Regions from separate parts of the Homo sapiens genome. Here region 1 is linked to region 2. Evidence: promoter capture Hi-C in 16 types of primary human blood cells and fetal thymus (Javierre and others, 2016). All regions are on one chromosome and are shown on one strand. Each heading gives the region's core, a stretch centred on a gene start or on the middle of the fragment in contact. The rest is flanking DNA. Distances are from core to core; before and after follow the strand shown.

Region 1 (2,880 bases), core at 199-2,698, 270 kb after region 2:
ACAAGAAAGAAATTAATTAAAGACATAACATTTAAAATAACTATTTAGGAATAATTTTCGGCATTCAGAAAGTTGCAAAAAATAGTACAAAGAAACTGGTGTGATAGCTCACACCTGTAATCCCAGCTACTTGGGAAGCTGAGGTAGGAGGATCGCTCGAGCCCAGGAGTTCAAGACCAGCCTGGGCAATACAGCGAAAGCCCATCTTTAAAAAATTTTTTTAAAAATTAGCCAGGTGTGGTGGTGTGCACCTGTAGTCCCAGCTATGTGGGAGGCTGAGGTGAGAGGATCACTTGATCCCAGGAGTCTGAGGCTGTAGTGAGCTATGACTGCACCACTGCACTCCACCTGGGTGACAGAGTGAGACAGTGTCTCTGAAAAAATAATAATAATAAAATAGTACAGGGAGTTGCCATGTAGCCTTCACTCAGCTTCCACTAATGTTAAACAACTACAGGACATTGTCAACATTAAGAAATTAGTGACATTACGGTACTCTTCACTAAACTATAGATTTTATTTGTATTTTATCGGTTTCTCCATGAACCGTTTTTCTGTTCCAGAATCCAGTCCACAATACCACACTGCACTTAGAAAACTCGAAAGGAATGAGTGTGAGTAGTAGAAGCAACAAACAGGAGCAATGCAGGTTGACATGGCCGGGAAAGGCCCAAGAGCTGCTGCCAACAGGCCCTAGAACTGGAACCCAGAAGGGGACGGATGAAGAGTGCCCTGCCCAACAGCAGATAAGAGAAATAAAAAAAGGAAAAAAACAAAAAAATAAAACACAGAAATAATCTGTCTCGGCTGGGCGCGGTGGCTCACGGCTGTAATCCCAGCACTTTGGGAGGCTGAGGCAGGTGGATCACAAGGTCAGGAGATCGAGACCATCCCGGCTAACACAGTGAAACCCCGTCTCTACTAAAAATACAAAAAATTAGCCGGGCGTGGTGGTGGGCGCCTGTAGTCCCAGCTACTTGGGAGGCTGAGGCAGGAGAATGGCGTGAACCCAGGAGGCGGAGCTTGCAGTGAGCCGAGATTGCGCCACCGCACTCCAGCCTGGGTGACAGAGCAAGACTCCGTCTCAAAAAAAAAAAAAAAAAGAAATAATCTGTCTCAGCCATGCACCCCGTAGCCCAAGACAGCTCCAGAAACCCTGTGGGGTGGCAGCTCCAAGGTCCTGTGATACTGTGGCAGTCAGAGTGTGTGTCTGAAACAGGAGGGAGAAGAGCAGGCAGCAGCCCACCGGAGGCCAGGACGCCCGCCTGCTGTACACAGGACACGCCAGTTGCCCACAGGCTGGGTGAAGTGCCTGCTACCACAGCACACCGGGGGCTGCGCCTCCGTCCTCTCACAAGGGCAGGGCTTTGCTGAGAGCCCCGGCAGACGTCATGGTCACAGTTACACCAAGGGGACTGAGGCAACAGAGGTTACAGAACTTGCTAAGAGTTGCCATAAACATCTCTCATCAAAATCCTCCCACTGGGTCTTAAACAAGCCCATCTCCCTAAAACGCCATCACGTGCCTCGTAGGGAAAAGACATCTCTGACCTAGAAAGCCACTGCCCCACCTCTCCTCCCTGCTGTGAGCCCTCCTCCGGGCGCTTTGCTGCTCTGTGCTGGAGTATGCTGTGTGGGGAGCCCAGCTCGGTGCCTGAACAGCTTTAAAGGAGTGGCACACCCATTTCAGATGAGGACAACTTGGGTAAGGAGCTTATGAGGTTATACGAGTGATGCCTGGCTTCCAAATCTCTATTCCATCACCACAGCTCACCCTAGATATGACCCCCAACAACTGCCTGAGGTGGGGATTGAACTGAAGAAGCTGCCACCCGCTCTGTGTTCTACGCCTGCACGTCTTTTCCCGCAGCAGGTGCTTCTCAAGGCTTCTGTCAGCATCTTGGCAGCAGTGGTTCTGAACTTTTCGCGTGCAACAGGTTCATCAGGTGGACCTTTTGGCCCCTTCTGCAGAGAAAAGCCAGATGATCTGCTGGGCTGGAAGCGCTGGCTGTTAACAGACACCTGAGGATCTGGTGGGCCTGGAAGCGCTGGCTGTTAACAGACACCTGAGCAGGCCATTTGCTGTCCTCTCCGGATTGACAGGAGTCAAAACATGAGATCGGCTTAGCTTCAGTTTCGTCATGGATTAACCACCTCCAAGGTGTCAACTCCAAAATGTCAAGAATTGGTCACAGTCTCACTTGCAGATTCCTGCTCTGCAGCTGGGCAGCTTGGACTGCTCCCACAGTCCAAAAAAGGAAAGACTTTCTCATCATTGAGATTCTCCTCATTCCAGTAGATTGTTTAATAACTGGTATGTCAGAAGCACAAACATGGTTTCTCCAAAAGGGCTGGCCGAGACTGACTTCAACATGATGGCTCGAGGAGCTTCACTGACCTTCTCAGAGAGTAATGAGCAGTCCCAAAACAGCCATTTAGAGAGCCTTTGGAAATGGTCCTATGGGCACCCAGCAAATGAAGAAACACTTGCTCCAGAACACCTACATACATTTGGTAAGGACACGGAGAGTCTGTGGCACTTGAGCTCCATCCTGCTGCAGCCAAGAACACAGGGCCACCTCCCCAGCTCCCAGGCAGCGGGGTGTCTTCCCAGGAGAGGCAGGATAGCAGTGCTTCCCTTTCTGCTCTCATCCCACCTGTGACTGAGACCAGGTCCTGAGTGAGTAGGATTGAGAAGAGGGGCCCTCCTTTCTGCTCAGACCCTATTTGTAGAATGAAGGCTTCACCTTGGCTCCATTCTACCAGTACGGTTTAAGCCTCTGCAAGAGGCTCCGCCCAGTGAACGGAGAAGACTGGGGCCCCATCAACCCCGTCCTAGATATGAGGTGGTTCCAGGCTGGGGAAGACACATTTGGAGGA
Region 2 (2,797 bases), core at 53-2,552:
GCCCATGCAACTTTGGCAGCCTGGCCTGTCTGCTGGCAAGTGGGGCAGAATCCCTGCACTCCACCATTCTTGGGCAACACTCCCTCTAGGATTTTGGCCTCCCTTTTCTCTCTGGTCTTTGACCACCGCTACCCAGCAAACTCCTCCATCTAGACCAGCCAGCATTGGTTTCTTCCACTCCCCCAGCTGCCGCGTGGGAGGCGCCACTGCAAACTTCCCTGGGGTCTCCCAGCTGCTCAGAGATCCCCATGCCCTTCCCTGATCAGCTCCCTGCCCGGTTCTCATCCCGGCGATTCTAAACCGTCCATCTTTACAAATACTCCGCTCCATCCCCACTCCCTGACTGAAGTAAACAGATGTATCCTGAACTCCTCATTCTCCCCCCATCTCACTCTCCTCGCCTGTGTGCACCTCGCCTCGTGTGTCTTCCTCACCTCCGAGCAGAGGGATCTGTCCTCCTGCCCGAAGGTAACCCTGACCCCTGGACTCTGCGCCTCCTTCCCGCAGCCTCCACCAGATTGCGGGTCCGTTCACCGCCCCCCTCCACACGCGCTGGGGGCACCTCCGGGAGCTGGGGCTAGCGCAGGGCACACACATGTTCCACCTCGAACTGCGAGCGCTGACCGGGATCTCTGGGCAGCCCTCTCTGTGTGCACTGGCTTGCTGAAGGCTCGCGACAGCCTGGGCCCGGGCGCGCATTCCAGCACTTTCTACCCTCCGGCTTCAGAGTGCATTGCTCTGTGGATCCGTCACGAATAAGCCGTGTGTGAAGAACGCCAGGTCCCGGCAGAAGATCGCTGCCCGGCGTGCGAACTCCCCCACGGTGCACCAGGGCCGCCGCCCTGCATCCTCCAACCTCAGCTCCCCGGCACCGCGACCCTCCGTGCAGTGCGAGCCCCCGATGGGCGCGCGCCCCCACCTGCGCTCCAGAAGGCCGAAGGGGGCATCCCACTTGCAGGGCGGGTCACCCGCTTTCCCCGCGGGCCAAGGGGCTCCAAGATTCCCAGCCCCTCCTTCCCAGCCGCTCCGCGACACCCTGGCAACCGGCTTCGGCCCCGCCCCTTCTCGTTGTGTAAACAGGAAGTGAGCCTGCGCGTGACGGTCGCTTCCGGCCCGGCGAGGGGCGGGAGCGATTGTGAACGGCGGCGGGGCAGAGCCAATCGCGGAAAACGGCAGGAGGAGAGCCAATCCCGAGGGTCGGCGGACGCGGGAAGGGGCGGAGCCAGAGGCGGGGCCGGCAAGGCGGAGCCAATCGCGGCGGTCCGCGGGGCGGGGCCGGGGGCGCGGCCGGGTGGTGGCGGTGGCTGCGGCGACGGCGGTCGCGTCGGCGTCAGGGTCGGGGTCGGTAAGGGGTGCGGCAATGCTGCAACTGCGGGACTCGGTGGACTCGGCCGGTACGAGCCCCACGGCGGTGCTGGCGGCCGGCGAGGAGGTGGGGGCAGGCGGCGGCCCGGGCGGGGGGCGGCCGGGGGCGGGGACGCCGCTGCGCCAGACACTCTGGCCTCTCAGCATCCACGACCCCACGCGCCGCGCCCGCGTCAAGGAGTACTTCGTGTTCCGGGTGAGGCAGGGGCCAGGGCCGGGGCGGGGGCCGAGGGCGCGGGGCGGGATGGGGGCGGGTGGGGTCGGAGGCGGGCGCCGGGCGGTCCCGCAGGGAGCGAGCTGTGACCTGTGATCTTTGCCCCCGTCCCCCACCCCGCAACCCGCCCAGCCCGGCAGCATCGAGCAGGCAGTGGAGGAGATCCGCGTGGTGGTGCGGCCCGTGGAGGACGGCGAGATCCAGGGAGTGTGGCTGCTTACCGAGTAAGCCGGGGCTGCGCTCTCCTTGGTGGGGGGACTCGCCCCGAGCCGCCGCGCAGCACCTTGCGAGGACTTCCCGGGGTGCTCGTGCCACGCTCAGGCGCCCCGTGCCGCCCCTGCTGCCCTTCCAGGCGGGCTGGCCTTGGCTAAGTCGAGACAGCCGCGTCCAGTGTGGACTGAGGCCCCTCCTCTGCCTACAGGGTGGATCACTGGAACAATGAGAAGGAGCGGCTGGTGCTGGTCACGGAGCAGTCCCTGCTTATCTGTAAATACGACTTCATCAGTCTCCAGTGCCAGCAGGTGGTGCGGATAGCGCTCAACGCAGTAGACACCATTTCCTACGGAGAATTCCAGTTTCCCCCTAAATCGCTCAACAAGTAAGCCTGTTCAGAGTCCAGTATCACTGGACCTAAGCACCAGAGTGGACCTTACAATTCAGCCCTTTTAAATCAGCCCCCCAAGCGGTGTGTCTTCTCTGTCATTAATTATAAGCACAAAGGCTCCAGCTCCAAATATCAATGGGAAGTTCCTTAAAAAGAAGCGACTTCTGGGCAATTGAGTGCATTAAAAGGAATTCTGGCACAGAAGGCAGCTATTAGGCTGGTAGTAAAAAGACTTACATGAGTTCAGGATGCATTGAAGTAGAGCCCAGCGTGTTAAAAAGGAACTTGGATGTTCTTCAGGAAAAGTCCAAACTCTGCATTTTTCTCCAGCCAGGGACAGATTGCATATGACACATCAAGTCTTGCTCTGGCTAATTTTTTAAAGAGAAATGGAGGGTCCCGTTGTAATTTATAGATACCACTAAAAGACAAATTTGGAAATATTTAATGACCAGCTTTCAGGAGTTGATCTTTTTGCTGTAGGATAATTTTCTGACGTGAGGAACCTAAACATTACTACAGTCAGTTAAGCTGTAGAACTTGGGTTTTTGATGGAGAGATTTGGATGGGGGATTCAGGAAGCTAAAATAAAAATTTTACCTTTTGGTTAAAAC

What was found. Contacts are between HindIII fragments. The CHiCAGO score rates a contact against its expected background, and 5 or more counts as called.
Region 1: a contact is called between a fragment that was not itself captured here and the fragment with the promoter of TPRG1L in region 2, in 1 of 17 cell types (monocytes). The highest score is 5.3, in monocytes.

The regions. Positions count from the first base shown.
Region 1 is chr1:3,893,521-3,896,400 of GRCh38, forward strand. All of the region lies in intron 1 of C1orf174 (chromosome 1 open reading frame 174), which reads right to left. Among named protein-coding and RNA genes, the nearest start is that of C1orf174, 5.3 kb to the right of the region's middle. The HindIII fragment of the contact is 8,006 bases long and covers 1-2,880 here.
Region 2 is chr1:3,623,713-3,626,509 of GRCh38, forward strand. TPRG1L (tumor protein p63 regulated 1 like) reads left to right here and starts at 1,303. Exons shown (of 5, transcript NM_182752.4): 1 at 1,303-1,561; 2 at 1,712-1,803; 3 at 2,001-2,177. The coding sequence starts at 1,361. It also overlaps a transcript of MEGF6 not described here. RefSeq lists enhancers at 577-696, 1,677-2,339 and a silencer at 1,147-1,376. The HindIII fragment of the contact is 13,719 bases long and covers 1-2,797 here.